Linked DNA regions of Homo sapiens: regions 1, 2, 4, 5, 6 and 7 are each linked to region 3. Evidence: promoter capture Hi-C in human tissues and cell types (Jung and others, 2019). All regions are on one chromosome and are shown on one strand. The core of a region is centred on a gene start or on the middle of the fragment in contact, and the rest is flanking DNA. Distances in the headings are between cores, read along the strand shown.

Evidence for each region. The method cuts DNA at HindIII sites, captures the fragments that hold promoters and counts their contacts. A contact is called where the count stands out against the background at its distance.
Region 1: a contact is called between the fragment with the promoter of CLCN7 here and the fragment with the promoter of METRN in region 3, in 4 of the 25 tissues and cell types used here (dorsolateral prefrontal cortex, hippocampus, lymphoblastoid cells and 1 more).
Region 2: a fragment that was not itself captured here is called in contact with the fragment with the promoter of METRN in region 3 in 1 of the 25 tissues and cell types used here (lymphoblastoid cells).
Region 4: a contact is called between the fragment with the promoter of UNKL here and the fragment with the promoter of METRN in region 3, in 1 of the 25 tissues and cell types used here (dorsolateral prefrontal cortex).
Region 5: a fragment that was not itself captured here is called in contact with the fragment with the promoter of METRN in region 3 in 4 of the 25 tissues and cell types used here (dorsolateral prefrontal cortex, heart left ventricle, lymphoblastoid cells and 1 more).
Region 6: the fragment with the promoter of MAPK8IP3 here is called in contact with the fragment with the promoter of METRN in region 3 in 1 of the 25 tissues and cell types used here (lymphoblastoid cells).
Region 7: a contact is called between a fragment that was not itself captured here and the fragment with the promoter of METRN in region 3, in 2 of the 25 tissues and cell types used here (dorsolateral prefrontal cortex and lymphoblastoid cells).

Annotation. Positions count from the first base shown.
Region 1 is chr16:1,473,673-1,476,372 of GRCh38, forward strand. It overlaps CLCN7 (chloride voltage-gated channel 7), which reads right to left and starts at 1,356. Exons shown (of 25, transcript NM_001287.6): 1 at 1,162-1,356. The coding sequence starts at 1,302. RefSeq lists silencers at 1,099-1,308, 1,429-1,778 and an enhancer at 1,316-1,859. The HindIII fragment of the contact is 17,994 bases long and covers 1-2,700 here.
Region 2 is chr16:1,688,568-1,691,267 of GRCh38, forward strand. All of the region lies in intron 2 of JPT2 (Jupiter microtubule associated homolog 2), which reads left to right. Among named protein-coding and RNA genes, the nearest start is that of JPT2, 12 kb to the left of the region's middle. RefSeq lists an enhancer at 1,255-1,951. The HindIII fragment of the contact is 4,702 bases long and covers 1-2,700 here.
Region 3 is chr16:713,816-716,515 of GRCh38, forward strand. METRN (meteorin, glial cell differentiation regulator) reads left to right here and starts at 1,303. Exons shown (of 4, transcript NM_024042.4): 1 at 1,303-1,578; 2 at 1,769-2,169. The coding sequence starts at 1,475. RefSeq lists enhancers at 319-917, 1,516-2,113, 2,114-2,700 and silencers at 1,062-1,371, 1,472-1,901, 2,002-2,061. The HindIII fragment of the contact is 3,141 bases long and covers 1-2,055 here.
Region 4 is chr16:1,413,446-1,416,145 of GRCh38, forward strand. It overlaps UNKL (unk like zinc finger), which reads right to left and starts at 1,259. Exons shown (of 15, transcript NM_001372107.1): 1 at 1,170-1,259; 2 at 401-610. The coding sequence starts at 1,246. RefSeq lists enhancers at 160-734, 735-1,309, 1,310-1,884, 1,885-2,458 and silencers at 254-403, 834-883, 1,424-1,543, 1,594-1,663. The HindIII fragment of the contact is 21,408 bases long and covers 1-2,700 here.
Region 5 is chr16:1,376,994-1,379,693 of GRCh38, forward strand. All of the region lies in intron 10 of UNKL (unk like zinc finger), which reads right to left. Among named protein-coding and RNA genes, the nearest start is that of GNPTG, 26 kb to the left of the region's middle. RefSeq lists silencers at 2,300-2,369, 2,440-2,489, 2,530-2,609, 2,640-2,700. The HindIII fragment of the contact is 4,164 bases long and covers 1-2,700 here.
Region 6 is chr16:1,704,828-1,707,527 of GRCh38, forward strand. It overlaps MAPK8IP3 (mitogen-activated protein kinase 8 interacting protein 3), which reads left to right and starts at 1,368. Exons shown (of 32, transcript NM_001318852.2): 1 at 1,368-1,830. The coding sequence starts at 1,513. RefSeq lists silencers at 1-215, 1,122-1,461, 1,732-1,841, 1,862-1,911 and an enhancer at 699-1,563. The HindIII fragment of the contact is 16,634 bases long and covers 1-2,700 here.
Region 7 is chr16:1,358,234-1,360,933 of GRCh38, forward strand. The region is part of intron 3 of GNPTG (N-acetylglucosamine-1-phosphate transferase subunit gamma); the gene reads left to right. Among named protein-coding and RNA genes, the nearest start is that of GNPTG, 7.7 kb to the left of the region's middle. The HindIII fragment of the contact is 7,317 bases long and covers 1-2,700 here.

The DNA.
Region 1 (2,700 bases), core at 106-2,605, 760 kb after region 3:
GTCCTTCCTAATCTTTAAGCACAAGACAAGTGTTTAAAGGACTAGACAAGAGAAAATGTAAAGAATAACTGCAAAGCAGATTAAGACCCATCAACAAAACGGTCCATTAACTCAAAAGTAACACAATACGGCCAGGCGCAGTGGCTCACGCCTGTAATCCCAGCACTTTGGGAGGCTGAGGTGCGGGGGATCACGTGAGGTCGGGAGTTCGAGGCCAGCCTGACCAACACGGAGGAACCCCGTCTCTACTAAAAATACAAAATTAGCCGGGCGCGGTGGCGCACGCCTGTAATTCCAGCTACTCAGGAGGCTGAGGCAGGAGAGTCACTTAAACTCGGGAGGTGGGGGTTGCAGTGAGCCGAGATCGCGCCATTGCACTCCAGCCTGGGCAACTACAGTGAAACTCCGTCTCAAAAAAAAAAAAATATTAAGACAATACACAGACAGGGAAACAAATGTACCCGCAACGGTTCTCCAGACCTTAACACTGCTCAGACGCACGCTGCAGGGTGACATGCGGAACGCATTCCAACCTCTGACTTGCTGCTTATTGTGTTTGCCTGCACATTGCAAATTCAACTCGGTGCGAAGGGAGACTGAGTACAAATACTCGTCACTCCCAAGATCACCTGAAAGTCGGGACTGATCCCCACACAGAAAGATGGCAGATAAAGGCGCTCAGTCATTCTCACTGAAAGACAGTGACCCGGCTGCAATCTTAACTGTTTCCATCTCCCAGGGGGTCAAAAACGCAAACAAAATTAGTTGCTCGTGTAGGATGACAATTTTTAAAAGTCACCTGAACAGAAAGCCACTTGCACCCCTTTAGGGCCAGTCTGGGGGACACCGGAGGGAATGAACGTGCGCCACGGCTGCCCCGGCGCCCCTCAGCGCCCCACATTCCGCGGGGTCTGGCGAGCTCCGCCTCGCCCACGCAGCCCTCCCGGCCACCGAGCCCGGCGCGGCCTCCGAAGACTCCAGACCCCAGGCGCCCCCGCCAGCCCGGCCCCGCCGAGGAGCCCCGGGGCGCGTTCCCGAGTCCACCGCGCCTCGGTCGCCTCCAGGACCGAGACACGCGGCGCCGCCAGAAGGCTCACGAGGGCGCGGGCTGCGGGGCGCACGAGGGCTCAGTTTCCCCGCCTGCGCCCTGCCCGGCCTCACCTGGCGCGCAGCCCCAGGCCCAGCCCCGTTCAGCAGCGGCGTCCCCCCGCCGGGCCGCGCCGTCCTCCGCAGCAGCGGCGCCGCCTCCTCGTCGTCCCGGTCCCGGCCGGACCAGGACACCTTCTTAGAGACGTTGGCCATGGCCCGCCGCGGAGCGACACCGGCCGGGAAGCGCCGGCTGCCCCCGTGTTTGTTCTCGTGACCCGCGCCGGCGGCCACGTGACGCGCGACGGGGCCACGTGATGAGCGACGGCGACCATGTGACCTGCAACGGCAACCACCGAGGCCCGGTCGCGCGGGGGCTCCTGGGAGCCGCGCTCCCGGCGGGTCGTGGCGCCGCCCGCCCTAGAGAATCGCCGCGGCCCTGAGGACCCCGTTCTGCCCACGCGACTGCAAAGGCGGCCCCGTTGGGCTGAGCGCCGAGTGCTTGGGAGGCGAATGGCCGCCCCCGGGACCTCGGGCCCGGGAGTCGGGGCGAGGGAAGCGCCCGGGGCCTGAGGGCAGGAGCCGGCTGGAGGGGCTCCCCCAGGCCCGGTCGCCCGCGCCGATCGTGACGGAGCCGCGGTGGGGAAGGGAGGAGGGAGGCAGGGGCGAGGGCAGGCCTTTCCTTGCCATAGGCGGCGGCTAAAGACGTGAAGGATGAAATTAGAAGTCCCGAAGCATGCATCCGCCCTCGCAGTAGGCACTCGGGCGAGGGTCGGAGTGGAGGCTTCCTCCAGGCAGCCCCAGAGGGTCCTCCCGCCTAATGAGAAAAGAACAGAAGGCGAGTCCTCTTCAACGATCAGGCCCCAGAGACAGTACAGGAGGGTCGCCTCTGGAAACTGCCGGCTACTACGCAGATAGCTGTGAATTAGCCAAATAGCCGCCCGGACCCTGTACCCGCACCAGGGCACAGCCCATCACTAATCAATGGTATTTCCATAAACCAAAGAGAATTCTTGACAGCTTTACATCAGCCCCCACCCTGTCCCCACCTTCTGGGTCATTTATTTATTTATTTTGAGACAGGGTCTCCTTCTGTCGCCCAGGCTGGAGTGCGGTGGTGCGGTCACAGCTCAGTGCAGCCTTGACCTCCTGGACTCAAGCCATCCTCCCGCCTCAGCCTCTGGAGTAACAGGGACCACAGGCCTGCACCACCACACCCGGCTAATTTTTGCTGTGGAGCTCACAGTGTGTTGCCCAGGCTGTTCTCAAACTTCTGACCTCAAGTGATCCTTCCACGTTAGCCTCTAGAGTAAACTCTTTATATTTTGTGCCTCATCCTCTTCCTTTTAAAAGGTCGATATTTTTATTATTGAGACGGAGTCTCACTCTGTCGCCCAGGTTGGAGTGCAGTGGCCCAATCTCGGCTCACTGCCTCCCGGGTTCATGCCTCAGCCTCCCGAGTAGCCGGGACTACAGGCGCCCGTCACCATGGCCGGCTAATTTTTTGTATTTTTAGTACAGATGGGGTTTCACTGTGTTAGCCAGGATGGTCTCGATCTCCTGACCTCGTGATCCACCCGCCTCGGCCTCCCAAAGTGCTGAGATTACAGGCGT
Region 2 (2,700 bases), core at 188-2,687, 970 kb after region 3:
TTGCTTTTAAAAACAAATCTTGTAGGCCAGGTGCGGTGGCTCACGCCTGTAATCCCAGCATTTTGGGAGGCCGAGGTGGGAGGATTGCCTGAGCCCAGGAGTTTGAAACTGGCTTGGGCAACATAGCGAGGCCCAATCTCCCAAATAAATAAATGATATTTTTAAAAACAAAATAACACAGAGCCCTTGGAAATCAAAAATCTAGCAGGAGGAAAAAACATCTCTCGAGTTTATCTTCAATTATTAGTGAATTTAAGCATGTTTTCTTGCTTCAAAGCTGAATTTATTTTTCAAGTAAAATGGTAATAGACATATGTGGTATGACTACCTAGTTATGAAGGTTAAAAGCAGAGGTACATTGTTTAGTACCTATTGCACGTATACGTGGTAAAAATGTTTGTGGTTTCCAAAAAATTCAGGAGTGTGGTAACCTTGGGTGAGAGTGAAGGAACACAGGAGTTTCTGGGAACGGGCACTGTTCTCGATGACTTTGGCAGTGGTTACCTGGTGTCTGCCTTGTAGTTATTTGTGATAGTTAATGTCTTACAGACTTTTCTGTTATGTTTCACAGTTTAACTATTTTTTAAAAATGAGTGATGTCTTTGGCCAAAAACTTCAAATTGAGTTACTTTTATCTTCTATTTTAAAAAGCTGGAGTCACATTAAAAAAAAAAAAAGTCAGCCGTTATAGCACAGCCAGGAACATTGCAGTGGGGGCTGGGGGTTGCACACACAGTTTTATCCGCCCCGTGGTCCTGACGTGCTTGTTGACACAGCCCTGCAGCATTGCTGAGGGCTTACTCAGCAGGCCAGGACTATTCTAACCACGTCACCTGAGTTAACTTGTTTAGCCTCACCAGTGACCCTAGGTAGGTATGATTATTTATTACCTTTTTTTTGTTTTGTTGGTTTTTTGAGACAGGATCTTAGTCTGTCACCCAGGCTACAGTGCAGTGGCACCATCACAGCTCACCGCCTCCAACTTCTGAGCTCAGGCAGTCCTCTCACCTCAACCTTCTGAGGAGCGGGACCAGAGGCTAATTTTAAAATATTTTTGTAGAGACAAGGTCTCACTTGTTTCCCACGCTAGTATTGAACTCCTGGACTCAAGCAGTCCTCCCACCTTGGCCTCCCACCGTGCTAAGATTACAGGTGTGAGCCAGTGCACTTGGACTGTTTGTTACCTTTTTAAAGTTAAGAAGATGGATATGAAGGAAGGTTGACATAACTTGTCCAAGGTCTCACAGTTAGTGAGCAGCTGAGCAGAGACTCCCTGACCCAGGCAGTCTGGCCACAGGACACTCTCCCCACCGTGCTGTGCTGCTCTCCCTGGCCAGGGGTGTCAAGCTTGGGGACTGTGGGTCCCTGGGAGGTCCATGGCTGAGGTTCAGAAGGTTTATCACCCTGAAGTCATGTGAAAAATGTACACATTTCTCTGCAGGGCGAGTCCCGCATATCCCCAGGTGTTCTGTTACCACCTGCAAAAGGTAGACACGCCCGCCCGACCCCCCACTTGCTGTGCTCTGTTATAGTCCTCCTTGTCGCTGCACTCTGGGCCCCTAGAACTGGTGTCCCAGAAAGCCACCCTGCTTTAGGCCCCGCCGCAGCAGTGGGGCCCTCAAGCGGGTCTGAAGACGAGCAGGTGCACAGACCCCCAGCCGAGCCTCATCTCCACGCAAGCACACGTGGGCTCTTCATCCGGTTGCTTCTGTGGAGCAGTGTGGATTGTTAACACTAGGAATTAACTGTTGAATATGTGGTTTTTTCCTGTAACCAAATTGCTGTAACTGTACACTAACCTTGTGTGAGAAAAGTTTGTAGTCCTGCTAAAAGCTCCTCTGTCTCTGCCTATATAAATGAAACCCTAATGTCCCTACTTCAGAACACTGACTCCATTCCTTTGGAGTTGGTGTTTCCAGGTGGGCTATACTCAAGCATTACACATGAATAAACTCTCTTTAAGTTAAATAAATCAATTTACAAAATGTAATTTTTCGAGAACAGAAAATGCAAAAGATCAAAACTCTGTAAACAAAAAAAGGAGACCATGTTAAGCAGTGTGGAGCCCCTGCATTTCCCCAGTCCTGTTTCTTCACACGTGTAGGCATCCCCCACAGGTAACTGCTTTTCTTCAGATAAAAGCAAATAAGAACACTTCCCCTTTTACATGAAAACACTGCATGCTATATGGATTGTTTGCACCCTTGTGTTTTCACTGGATGATATGTATAGATACCTCTTTATCATTGCATAGAAAATAGAGTTGACATGTTTATTTCCATCCCAGACACTGTTGTAAGCATTTGACATATGAGCTACAGTAACTCACTGAGCTTTCTTCCAGTCCTGTGAGGGAGTTCTTTTATTATCCCCATTCTACAGATGAGGACTGTGGGACACAGAAAGGCCAAGTAACTTCCATAGGATCACACAGCAAGTTAGCAGAATGCATCTTCTTTCCTCTTAGATTATAAGTTCTTGGTGCACCAGGGCCATGATTTTAATGACACCAACCTCCATTTAGCATAGCACTTTGTCAAAAGTGGGTGCTTGGTGTCTGCTGAGTGAAGAGATGATCAGTTGGTCCCACAGGGTAGCCATCTTTCTGTGGAATGTTAGGCACGGGCATTTATGCTGAGCATCTAGCCTTTAGTCACCTGCTACTAGGAAGTTACCTCTTAGACGCACATTTTCATTATG
Region 3 (2,700 bases), core at 53-2,552:
GCCCTGGGGTTGAGGGAGGGCCTGGTCAGTGGGATCCAGCCTCCCACTGCCACTGAGCCATCTGGCCTCATCTGTCCGACTGCCACTGGTGAACTCATCTGTCCACCATGAGTTTCGAGCGCCGGGTGGCAGGAGGTTTGGGGGCAGGGGACGGAATGTTCACATCTTCAGGCTGCACAGTCTATGCTGGTCCTTGCAGTCCCCGGCTAAAGCTTCTGTCGTCCGTAAGGGGTTCAGTATGTAGTGGGACCCCTTTGCTTGTGCCTTAGGCCTTCTGTGATCTGACCTGTCGTCCCCACCCACCACCCATGCCCTGGGGTTTCACTGGGCTGCCAAGAGCTCCTTCCTCAGGCCCTTGACCCAGGCTGTCTGCTCTCCCCCATTCTCTTCCTGTCCACCTGGCCAGCCACTGCCCACTTCCTCCCATCAGGCCAACTCAGCAGTCCCGGATGCTGGGAATCCCACACTGCTCCAGCCTGAGGCTACAGTGTGTTTGCGAATCGCCTGTTTCTGCTTGTTTCATCTTGGTGGGGGCTGCTCCTGTGGCCCAGGGGTGTCCTCCCAGCTCCTGTGTCTCCACGTGCTGCAGGCCTGCAGGGGTGCCCGTGGCTGCTCCATTCACGCCCCTCCAGGAGCCCCGTCTGGCCCGGGGTCGGTCATCCGGCAACTATGGGGTGCCGCTAGGTCTGAGGAAAGGGGCCTAAGCCTGCGGGCTGCGCGCTCTTCAGCAGGACCCCCTCCTGCAGACGGCCTTACCAAAACCCGAGGCCTGGCCCCGCTCCAAGGCGCAGCCCCCAGGCCAGGCCTTCCCCGCCTCTGGAGTCATGACCCCTCTCCTCTGGGGCTCCACCGGCCTCTGGTCAGCAGGACCGGACCTGGTTGGGAGGGATGTGGCCAACAGGCCCAGGTCCCAGTGTTAGGAAGGAGCAGGCCCGGCCGCCCGCGAGGCGGAACCACCAGGTGGGCCACCTTCCCTACCGCCACCCCGAGGTTCCAGTGGACATCAAAACCTCGGCTCCATCAGAGGCTCCAGGACTCCGATCGGGACAGCGCGGGGGGCGAGGCCAGGGTGAGGGCGCGGCGAAGGAGAGACGCACAGCGCGGGGCGGGCAAGGAGCCTCCCTTCCGCGCCAAGGCCCCCCCCAACCCTCGAGGCGCTTGGACCGTGGGATAGTCCTCCGGCGGCGCCCGAGCTCCGGCCCCGCCCCCGCTCCGCCCCGCGCCTGCTATTGGCGGAAAGTTCCGGGCCGCGCCGCGACTGGCCGACACGCCGCAGGCCCCGCCCCCTTCCCGACCCGCTCCAAGGCGGCCCCGGCGCTGGGGCTGCGCGGCAGGCGGAGCGGCCGCGGGCTTGGGGGCTTCGCCGGGGCCGGGCGGCCGGCGCCCCCGGCTGCTCCCGCCGCCGCCCGGACCCGCGCCCCGCCGGGGCAGCGGTGGTGAGAGCCCCGACTCCCCGGACGCCGCCCGCCGTGCCATGGGGTTCCCGGCCGCGGCGCTGCTCTGCGCGCTGTGCTGCGGCCTCCTGGCCCCGGCTGCCCGCGCCGGCTACTCCGAGGAGCGCTGCAGCTGGAGGGGCAGGTACGGTCCGGGGGGCTGTCCCCGCACTTAGGACGGGGTGCGCTGCGGCTAGGACCCCCCAGGCGCCCCTCGGAGCGCGCAGAGCGCTGGGCCGGTTTCCCCATCCGCGAGGCGGCCTCGGGAGGGAGCGGGGGCTGCGCCGGGCGGGGACCCGCCCCCGTCTCAGCGCCCCGTCCCGTCCTGTCCCCAGCGGCCTCACCCAGGAGCCCGGCAGCGTGGGGCAGCTGGCCCTGGCCTGTGCGGAGGGCGCGGTTGAGTGGCTGTACCCGGCTGGGGCGCTGCGCCTGACCCTGGGCGGCCCCGATCCCAGAGCGCGGCCCGGCATCGCCTGTCTGCGGCCGGTGCGGCCCTTCGCGGGCGCCCAGGTCTTCGCGGAGCGCGCAGGGGGCGCCCTGGAGCTGCTGCTGGCCGAGGGCCCGGGCCCGGCAGGGGGCCGCTGCGTGCGCTGGGGTCCCCGCGAGCGCCGGGCCCTCTTCCTGCAGGCCACGCCGCACCAGGACATCAGCCGCCGCGTGGCCGCCTTCCGCTTTGAGCTGCGCGAGGACGGGCGCCCCGAGCTGCCCCCGCAGGCCCACGGTCTCGGCGTAGACGGTGAGTGGCGGTCTGGTTGGGACAGGGTGGGAGTCCCGAAGTCTTACCCTGCCTGGGCTTGGCGGGAATGTGCCTTGTCGGCCCCACTGCAGAAGGAAAAAGTGAGCTACAAGGGTTGGATGGGCTTGTCAGGCCACACAGCCTGGGACTGCTGGGGAGGGATGGCCTCCCCGCCCTCCCTTCCCGATTCATCTCTGGAAAGAGCTGGCAGGGGCAGAGTGGAGGGAAGGGGAGGCCGGGCCCAGCAATCCTGGGCCTCTGGTCCCTGAACGGTTGGGGGAAGAGATGGTGGGGACAGAATCGAAGCCTCCGGCCAAAGCTGTCCGGGGCTCCCTGGCCCAGCGGTGACCTCTCTCCCCTCCCCCAGCCCAACCAACAAAAGTCCAGTGTGCAGCCCGGTCACCATGGAGACGCCGCTCGCCTCCCTGCAGGGCACCAGGCCCAGCTCTTGCTTGGCTCTCCTGGAGCTTGGCGCCTGACCCTGAAAGGGATGGGCTCTCGCTATTCTGCCCCCTGGCCCTGGGCCAGGGA
Region 4 (2,700 bases), core at 9-2,508, 700 kb after region 3:
TAATCCCAGCTACTCCGGAGGCTGAGGCAGGAGAATCACTTGAACCTGGGAGGTAGAGGCTGCAGTGAGCCGAGATCATGCCATTGCACTCCAGCCAGAGCAACAAGAGTGAAACTCCGTCTCAAAAAACAAACAAAAAAAAGTGGGAGGTGAAGCAAAATTGGTTTGAGTCACACAAGGGTTACCCCTAAAACACACATAATCCCTCGGGAACTGGCCTGAGAATAGGAAATGCCGCCCCAGCATCCCTGGTCACTAGAAAATTTCAGCGTATAATTACGACTCCCTCTGCAGGGGCCAGGTATGGACACTAAGGCGTCCGCTGAGGGTCCCGGCCGCATCCCCGGGTGGAGGCCCCCCACCTCCGCCCAGGCAGCGGCGCCCCCTCGCGGCCGCTTACTCGTCGCCGTCGGGGCACACGCCGGTGGCTTCGTTGTACTTGGAGCAGTACACGTCGGGGCTGTAGTTGAAGGTGCCGTCGCGCCTGCGGAGGGGCCTGCGGCGCCGCTGGTTGAGGAAGTGCCAGTGGAAGCAGGTGAACGGCCGGTGCTGCGCGCACTTGTGCTGTGAAAACAGGGGGCACTGCTCCGTCCTGAACTCCTTCAGGTACCTACAAACACAGACAGCGCCGCGGCTCGCTTCCGGCAGCACCTCCAGGGACTCGGACTCGTGGGCGGCGGGACCCACCGGCCTCAGGAGCCTCAACCCAGGGTCGACCCGTACTCACATTCCCGGCGGGCCCCAGGCGCTGCGCCCACCCCCATCCCGACTCCAGACGCGACCCTCACCCGACCTCGTAGCCCAGGCGCTGACCCTGGTCCCCAAGCCCAAGCGCCACCCCGGACCCTGGGCGACCCGCTGTGACCTCACGGTCGGCAGCCGGAGCAGAGGGTCCCGGTCCCCGAGCCCAGGCGCAACCCCCAACCCCGGGGCGTTCCTCCCTCCCCAGAGGCGCGTGGACCCCGGAACCAGGTGCCATCCCAGACCATGGGCGCCGCGCTCCGACCTCAGGCGGAGGCCGCCGAGAGCAGAGGGTCGTGGCCCCCCCAGCCCAGGCGCTGCGCGGAGGCCGGGGGGCGCGGGGGCGGCGGAGGCGGCGCGAGCCCCGGCGGGAGGCTCCGAGCTGCACCGGGCGCGGGCGGGGGGCCGCAGGCCGGACGGGCGCTGACCTGTAGTGGGTCGGCTTCTCAGTCTGCGGGGGGGACCCGCTCAGCGCCGCTGCCGCCGCTTTCGAAACCGACGGCATTTTCAGTCAAAACAATGCAGCGCGCATGCGCCGCGCCGGCGCCCCCGCCCCCGGATATCCCCGCGCGCCCCCGCGGCCACGCCCCCCGCGGCCCCGCCCCCAGCCCGCAGACCCCGGCCCCGCCCCAGCCCCGCGCCCCCCGCAGCCCCGCCCCCGGCCCGCAGACCCCGCCCCAGCCCCGCGCCCCGCCCTGCCCTGCCCTGCCCTGCCCTGCCCTGCCCTGCCCTGCCCTGCCCTGCAGCCCCCGGCCCGGGACGCTGGTCCTGCCCGGGGCCGCGCGTGGGACCCGCGATGGTCGCCCCTGCTGTGACATGACCCGACATAACCGTGTATTTTACATGAATTAATCACAAGAGTTGTATCTCAATAGAGCTGCTCTTCCACAAACGAACCAAGAGGCTGATGTCAGGGGGAGCCAGGCACCGGGCGGAAGGGCCAAGGGGTCCTGGCCTTTGTAGAAAGGAATTTGTTCCATTTCGAACCTTGACCTCAAAAACTTATACTCAGAGATTTATCTACAAAGGTAATTATCACAGTTATTTTGCAAACACTTGAGGTCCCCCTTCCCCCAACAGCGCAGTAGCTGAGAAAAGGGAAAACTCTAAGTGCTCTGCGTGATTTGAAACAGTGCTTCCGAAGAATTTTTAGTGGTAGGAGGCCGGGCGCGGTGTCTCACGCCTGTAATCCCAGCACTTTGGGAGGCCGAGGCCGGCGGATCAGCTGAGTTCGGGAGTTTGACAACAGCTTGGCCAACAGTGAAACCCCGTCTCTACTAAACATACAAAAATATTAGTGGGGTGTGGTGGCTTGCGCCTGTAATTCCTGCTACTCCGGAGGCTGAGGCAGGAGAATGGCGTGAACCCGGGAGGCGGAGGTTTAGTAGTGAGCCGAGATTGCGCCACTGCACTCCAGCCTGGGTGACAGAGTAACACCCTGTCTCAAAAAATAAAAAAGAAATTTTTAGTGATATGAAAAATGTGCCCATTGGCCGGGCGCGGTGGCTCACGCCTATAATCCCTGCACTTTGAGAGGCCGAGGTGGGCGGATCACGAGGTCAGAAGATCGAGACCATCCTGGCTAACACGGTGAAACCCCGTCTCTACTAAAAATACAAAAAAAAAAAAAAAAATTACCCGGGCGTGGTGGTGGGCACCTGTAGTCCCAGCTACTCAGGAGGCTAAGGCAGGAGAATCACTTGAACCCAGGAGGCGGAGCTTGCAGTGAGCCGAGATCGCGCCACTGCACTCCAGCCTGGGCAACAGAGCGAGACTCCGTCTCAAAAAAAAAAAAAAAAAAAAAAAAAAAAAACGAAAAGAAAAATGGGCCCATTTAGGTTGAAAGCAAATCACTTCCTACAGATTTGTTCCAAGTATCTCAGGGTTTTTTTTAATATTAATACTGTAAAACAACAAAAACTATCATTTGCTGGTAGGATAAATTTCTTCATAGGTTCA
Region 5 (2,700 bases), core at 26-2,525, 660 kb after region 3:
CTGGGGTTCAGGTGCATCTTCCCCCGCCACACCCAGCCCCCCCAACCGAGATAGAGTCTTGCTCTGTCACCCAGGCTGGAGTGCAATGGCGCGATCTCAGCTCACTGCAACCTCCGCCTCCCAGGTTCAAGCTATTCTCCTGCCTCAGCCTCCTGAGCAGCTGGGACTACAGGTGCCCTCCACCACCCCCAGCTAATTTTGCATTTTTAGTAGAGACAGGTTTTCTCTATGTTGGTCAGGCTGGTCATGAACTCCCCACCTCAGGTGATCTGCTTGCCTCATCTCCCAAAGTGCTGGGATTACAGGTGCAAGCCACCATGCCCAGCCTCAAATGCAACTTTCAGGGGACACAATTCAACCCAGGACATGGGGGCCCACCTGCAGATGCCCCTGTTGGTCCTGCCCGTCCTCCCCAGGCCCCTCAGGACTCTGTATCAACAGATCTGGCCCCTGCTGTGCACAGCCCTCCCTCCCTGAGTCCTCCCTCAGAAAGGAGACCCCCCCTCTGCCTCCACTCCCCCTGCAGCTGTTTTCTGGGGCCTCCTCACCACTCACTCTGCCCACCGCTGCCCCGGGCCCTTCCCTCCAGCCCTGCGCCTGTGCCCTGAACTGCCTCTTGTCATAGGCACCAGCTTCCCTCCCAGGCCCACCCTCCTCCCTGAGGGCTGGCAGCCTCTCCTGTGGCCTGGACCCGCCCAACACAGTGGCTCTGCAGCCCCGAGCCCAGATGTCCAGCAGGGGCCAAAGCCCTTCCTCCTCCCTGGCAAAGGATCCCTTGCTTGTTCCCATGGCCCCACTGCAGGCCCTTCCCAGACACCACGTGTGCAGGGGCTGCTGGAAGCTGGCACTGCAGGATCCCTTCCTCATGGGCTGCTCGCTCAACCCACACCCCCTGAGGCCCATGCCCAGCCTGCCTTCATGCATTGCAATAGTAACCTTCCTACCAAGAAAAGCCTCATTGCATCCTGAATCCTGACCTGCAAGAAAGGAGGAAGCTTGTGCCCTTGCGCGTGCCGGTCACCGCTTCCCAATGGGTCCTTTGCCGGGCTCCTAACCTGCTGTGCCACTGCAGGCTCAGCCTGGCTGTGCCTTCCATTCAGTAAGATCAGCCACACCAGTCCCCAGAAAGCTGCTCGGCCTCCAAGCCCTGCATGGAATGCCCCCCACTACATCCTTGCAGGTGTCAGCCTGAACCATGTCAGGGCCCTGGACAGACTCACTGAGGACAGGCACCGACCCCCCAACCCGCAGGCCTGCCCACAGCCCCCTCATGCTCCCATACGGGGGCTTGATGACGGGCAGGGCCAAGCGGTTTGCCCATAGTCAGGTCAGCCAGGCTCGGGAACCTGGACCTGCCCTCTGCACCCAAGTCCCAGGATCAGGATATGGCAGCCCCTTCAGAGCTCACCGCCCCTCACACCTGGCAGAGATCCAGAAACTCCTCATGAAAATCAAAGACGCAAAGAAGTTGGGGGACAGGAACGGAGGCGCCTTTTCTCCCCTTGGAGTGGGGTGATCCCACCAGGCTCCGTGCTAAGTCGGCAGAAGCTTCACCCACCAGCTGCAGAGTGCGCAGCATGTGGAGGGGCTAAGCTGCCTTCAATGCTCACCCGACAAACTACGGCTCGCACTCAACTCAGAGGGCGTCAGCCACCACCTACCTCAGCCAAGTCACCTGTGCTGAAGCCCGGGAAGCTGCCTGGAGAGGGGACGTTCAGGGAGCGTGTGGGTGCCCCCGAGAGACTCCGGCCCCGCTTCAAAGCCAAGTGCCCCTCATCCAAAGAGAGCACCGGAGAGGGTCCTGGAGGCTCCACCACCCCTAGGGTGCTATCTAGGGCTCACTCCCAGAAATCAAGGGGGGAGACGGCTGCTGCACCGTCCTGGCCCACTTTCTCACCCGCAGCTTCTCCCCCACCTCACCTCACTGTTTCAAGGTTAGACCCAGATCTTCTGAAACATTCTCAAAGAAAGAGCTGACCCTTGTGCAGAGGCAAAATCTAGGTGAGGCTGGTCACCTAAGCGAGTACAGCTGGGTCAGGCCAGGCTGCCTCAGCCCCGGGCGTTAGGAAACCACCGGCCCCGCTGAGTCACCGCGACACAGCCCGGCTCTGCCGTGACACAGCACATTCAAGGCGCCGCGGTCCCCCGGGGTCAGGGACACGCGAGGACAAGCTACAGACTGCTCGGAACTCAGGACAGGGCGGGGGAGCCGCCGACGCCAGGGAAATTCCCGTACCACGCGGGCTGAGTGCAGGCGGGCCAGGCCAGGACGCAGGGGTCGGCCCTCCCCCGCCCCGTTCCCCTGCCCTCTCCTGCCCCGCTCCGCTCCGCTCTCCTGCCCCGCTCCCCTGCCCTCCCTCGGGGCACCGACCCCGCCTAGCTAGGGGACGCAGGCGGCCCGAGCCCGCGCTGGGAAGCGGCGAGCGCCCGGCAGAGGCAGGTTCCGAGAAGGCGACGCCTTCGCCTCGCTCCGGGCCTCTGAGAAGCCCGGGCCCACCCCGCGGCTGTCACACCCGGCTCCGTGACGCGGGGGACGCACCTGGCGGGGGGCGCACCTAAGGGAGGGCCCGCTCCTGACCGCCGAGTAACGAGACCCGCACCTTGGCGGCGCACGGCTGCCACGCGCTGGGGCCGCCGCCAATGCTGACTCACGGTCCGCGGCCGCCCCGCGCCGCCGCCGGGGATTCAAACCCGGCCCGC
Region 6 (2,700 bases), core at 118-2,617, 990 kb after region 3:
GAAAGGGGACCCTGGGCCAAGAGTCAACCAGGATGACATGCAGAATCAGACCTGCAAGGGCTGCAGATACTGTAGTTATGAGGCACACCCAACGCTTAAAGATAAATATGTGGTTGGAAGTATAAGAGCCTATTAAAACTGCTAGAATATAAGAAATCAAATAGGACAAAAACAGAATCATTGGCAGGGTGCAGTGGCTCACGCCTGTAATCCCAGCACTTTGGGACGCCGAGGGAGGCGGGTGGATCACTTGAGGTCAGCAGTTCAAGACCAGCCTGGCCAACATGGTGAAACCCCGTCTCTACTAAAAATACAAAAAAATGAGCCGGGCGTTAATAGCGCGTGTCTGTAGTCCCAGCTACTCAGGAGGCTGAGGCAGGAGAATCGCTTGGACCCAGGAGGCGAAGGTTGCAGTGAGCCGAGATCGCGCCATCACACTCCAGCCTGGGCGACAAGAGCGAAACACCGTCTCAAAAAAAAAAAAATCGGTGCAATTAATAACCCAGTGGATGGGTTAAACAGATTGCACGTAGCTGAAAAGTAACCGAAAATCTGGACTGGCGCGGTGGCTCACGCCTGTCATCCCAGCACTCTGGGAGGTCGAGGCGGGCGGATCACTTGAGATCAGAAATTTGAGACCAGCCTGGCCAACATGGCGAAACCCCGTCTCTACTAAAAATACAAAATTAGCTGGTCTGTAATCCCAGCTACTCCGGAGGCTGAGGGAGAAGAATCACTTGAACCCAGAAGGCGGAGCTTGCAGTGAGCCAGGATCGCGCCACCGCACTCCAGCCTGGGCGACAGAGCAAGACTCCATCTCAAAAAAAAAAAAAAAAAAGAAAATCTGAAGCAGTCAGTGCAGTAGGGAGAAGTGGGCGAAAGGAAGGAGGCCACGCTGCTGGGTTTCAGGATGAGATGGGCGTTGAGGGTGCATTCACAGAATCCCGGGAGGAGCCAGCTGAGCGGGGAAGGCATCAGGAGAGGGGAGGCACTGAGCGGGGCGCGGTGCTGTAGGGAACGGAGGCTCATCAGGGCGGCCGGGATTGAGGCGCAGGCGCTGAGCCTTCACCTAAGTCCGCCGAAGTGTGCAGAGCCTGGAGACGGGATCGAGGTCACCGGAAGCCCACGGTTGCGGGGACATGATCAAGCTACAGCGCGCTGGGGGAAGCGACCACTGCCGCCCCGCGGATCCCACCGGCCTGGCCGGGAGCTCCCTCTGCCCGGCTCACCCGCGCTTCCGGCCCGAAGCCCGGCTTCCTCTGACGTCACGGCCCCTGCGCCCCCTGGCGGCGCGGCTGCGGCGGGACGCGCGGGCACCGCCCCCTCCGGCTGGAGGGCGGGACTTCCGGTGAGTGAGTGACGGGCGCAGCCTCGGCAGCGGCGGCGGCGGAGCCCTGAGGCGACAGCAGCTGCGGGAGGCGACGGGCTGCGGCCTGCGGAACCTGAGGCAGCTGGGGAGGGCCGGGCGCGCCGGCCGGATAGCGAGCCGCGCTGGCGGCGGCGGTGGCCGCGATGATGGAGATCCAGATGGACGAGGGCGGCGGCGTGGTGGTGTACCAGGACGACTACTGCTCCGGCTCGGTGATGTCGGAGCGGGTGTCGGGCCTGGCGGGCTCCATCTACCGCGAGTTCGAGCGCCTCATCCACTGCTACGACGAGGAGGTGGTCAAGGAGCTCATGCCGCTGGTGGTGAACGTGCTGGAGAACCTAGACTCGGTGCTCAGCGAGAACCAGGAGCACGAGGTGGAGCTGGAGCTGCTGCGCGAGGACAACGAGCAGCTGCTCACCCAGTACGAGCGTGAGAAGGCGCTGCGCAGGCAGGCGGAGGAGGTGCGTGGGCCGCGGGACCCGCCCGCATCCCCGTCCCGGACCCCCAGCCAGCCCCGGGCCCCGGACCCAACACCCGTCCCGACCCCAGACCCCGCTCCGGCACCCCGGACCGCGGGACCCCTGGACCCCCAGACCCCGCCCCGAGACCCGCCTGGACCCCATATCCCCCGCCCCGGGACTTCCCCACCCCCTCTGCCCGCCGTGAGACACCTCCCTAGAGCACTCCCCCGCCTGCCCCGGGACCCCACCCCGACTCCCGGGGACCCCCTTTTCCGCCCAGGCCTGGGCCCTGGCCCCCTCCTCCGTGCCCCCAGCCCTGAATCTTCAGCCCCAAACCCGATGTGCCTGGCGTCATCCCCGGGGAGCTCAGCTTCAAAGCCAGGCCTCACTCTCCCCTCCCCACCCACCTCTGCATGACAATTGCCTTTGCTTTCGTGCGTGTGTTCAGTCAAAACCGTTTCCCGACCCCAAGTGCTACCTCTGTTGGCTGCCATTCTAAACCCATCTAGAAAAGGAATCTTTTGGTGTTCTTAGGGGGCTGCAGCCGTCTGTGGATGATGTTGGAGACCTTTCCCTTGTCCCTAATCCCGTATTTTGAAGGTCTGTGACACGGGTGAATTGGGTGGTTGATGTAAACACAGAACAAGGCCGCAGGCGGGCTGCTCCTCTGTCAGCAGAAGGAACACTCGAGTTTCTGGAGGTGATGTCTTTGCCCCCTTGGTTCCTTGCTTGGCGAGATTGTTAGCTGATGTAGCCAGGGCTGAGAAACTCCACTCTGGCTTCTGAGGAGTTAACAGTCTGAGTTTGAAGCGTTTAATTCTGTGCTAGGATGTCTCCATAACCTGGAAATCGCTTGTCTGTGAAGCAGTT
Region 7 (2,700 bases), core at 201-2,700, 640 kb after region 3:
CATCATCTCCACAACTTGCTCTGTCCCCTTCAAACCCTGACTCCCAGCTGCCCCGCTCCCCCAGCCCCGGCACCCACCATTCTGCTGTCTCTGAACTTGGCTATTCATAGACGTCACATAGGTGACTCATAACTGTGTGCGACCTTTTGTGTCTGACCAACTCCTCTTGGCACAGTGTCCCCAAGGTCCCCCAGGCTGGAGGCTCTCAGTGCTTCCTTTTTATATGGCTGAGGACTGTTCCACTGCAAGGACAGACCACGTTGTTGTTTACCCGTCATCTGTCCATGGACACTGGAGTGGCTTCCACCCTCTGCCTGGGAATAGGCTGCTGTGAACTTGGGTGTAAATATTTGAGTCTCTGCTTCCAATTTCTGAGAGTAGCTTTGCTGGATCTTATTAGAATTCCATGTTTAGCTTTTTGAGGAACCACCAAACTGTTTGCATAGTGGCTGCACCGTTTCCCATTCCAGCCAGCATTGCACGAGGGGTCCAGTTTCTCCACATTTTCACCAACACTGTTTTTTGCTAACAGCCATCCTAGTGGGTGTGAAGCGGTACCTTAGGGTTGTTTTAATTTGCATTTCCCTAATGATCAGTCATGTGGGATCTTTTCAGTTGCTTATGGTGTTTGTCCTTTTTTTTTTTTGAGATGGAGTCTCACTCTGTGGCCCAGACTGGAGTACAGTGGCGCCATCTTGGCTCACTGCAAGCTCTGCCTCCCAGGCTCAGGCGATTCTCCTGCCTCAGCCTCTCAAGTAGCTGGGATTACAGGCGTGAGCCACCACACCTGGCTCATTTTTATTTAGTAGAGACGGGGTTTCACCATGTTGGCCAGGCTGGTCTCAAACTCCTGACCTCATGATCCGCCTGCCTCGGCCTCCCGAAGTGCTGGGATTCCCGGCTTCTCTGCCCATTTTTAACTTGAGTTTATTGTTGGGCTGTAGTTCTGTGTTCTGGATGTGAGTCTCTTACATACGTGGTTTGCCAGTGTTTATTTTCTCCCATTCTGTGGGTTGTCTTTTCACTCCCTTGATGGGTTTGTTTTTTTTTCCATATAGAGTCTAACTCTGTAGCCCAGGCTGGAGTGCAGTAGCACGATCTTGGCTCACGGCAACCTCTCCACCTCCCAGGCTCAAGGAATTCTCCTGCCTCAGCCTCCCGAGTAGCTGGGACTGCAGGCATCCGCCATCACGCCTGGCTAATTTTTTTGTACTTTATTAGAGATCAGGTTTCACCATGTTGGCCAGGATGGTCTCGATCTCCTGACTTCGTGATCCGTCTGCCTCGGCCTCCCAAAGCACTGGGATTACAGGCGTGAGACCCTGCGCCCGGCCTCTATGCCAGTCTTTATGCCAGTATCACACTGTTTTGATCATAACAGCTTTGAAGTAATTTTTGGAATCAGTATGTACGAGTCTCTCAACTCTGTCTTTAAGATTTGTTCGATGATTTGGGGTCCTCTGAGACTCCCTATGAACTTTAGGATGTGTTTTTCTATTTCTGCAAAAACTGTCATTGGGGTTTTGATGGGGTTGCATTGAATCTGCAGATCACTCTGGGTGGTATTGTCATCTTAAAAATATTGAATCCATCAGGCTGGGCGCTGGGGCTCACGCCTGTAATCCCAGTACTTTAGGAGGCTGAGGCAGGTGGATCACCTGAGGTCAGGAGTTTGAGACCATCCTGGCCAACATGGAGAAACCCCGTCTCTACAAAAATACAAAAATTAGCCAGCCGTGATGGCAGGCACCGGTAATCCTAGCTACTGGGGAGACTGAGGCGGGAAAATCGGTTGAACCCAGTGGTGGAGATTGTAGTGAGCCAAGATCGTGCCACTGCAATCCAGCCTGGCGACAATGCTAGACTCCGTCTCAAAAAAAAAAAAGTGGCGTATGGATGTCTCATGTCAGCTTTATGTAGTGGGTGGCACTGTTTGTGCGTGGATAATTGTGGTGTCTTGGCACATTGACCCTTTTATCAATGTATAACATCTTTGTCTCTTAAAATAGTTTCAGCCACTTCAGCTCTCTTTTGCCTGTTTATATGAATACTTTTCCATACCTTCACTTTCAACCTGTTTATGTCTTTAAATCTGAAGTTAGTCTTTCAGGCCGGGCATAGTGGCTCACACCTGTAATCCCAGCACTTGGGAGGCCAAGGTGGACGGATCACTTCAGGTCCACAGTTGCAGACCAGCCTGGCCAACACAGTGAAACCCCGCCTCTGCTGAAGATACAAAAATTAGCTGGGCGTGGTGGCGGGCACGTGGGATCCCAGCTACTCGGGAGGCTGAGGCAGGGGAATCACTTGAACCCAGGAGGCGGAGGTTGCAGTGAGCCGAGATCGCGCCACTGCATTTCACCTTGGGTGACAGAGTGAGACTGTCTCCAAAAGAAAAAAAAGAATCTAATGCCTGATGAGCTGAGGTGGAACAGTTTCATCCCCAAACCACCCATCCCCACCCCCGGCTGGTAGAAAAACTGCCTTCCATGAAACCAGTCCCTGGTGCCAAAAAGATTGGGGACCACTGGTTTAAGTCCTGTAGCTTTACAGACCATAGCTAGAAAGGCAACTGGTATTAATTCACCCTGCACGAGGACCTCCGTCTGCCTCCGCTGAGCTGCTGTCTGCTCACTTCCCCGGGTGGCACACCGGCCTGCATGTAACCAACTCCTGAAGCTTTTATCTGGGAATGTCCTC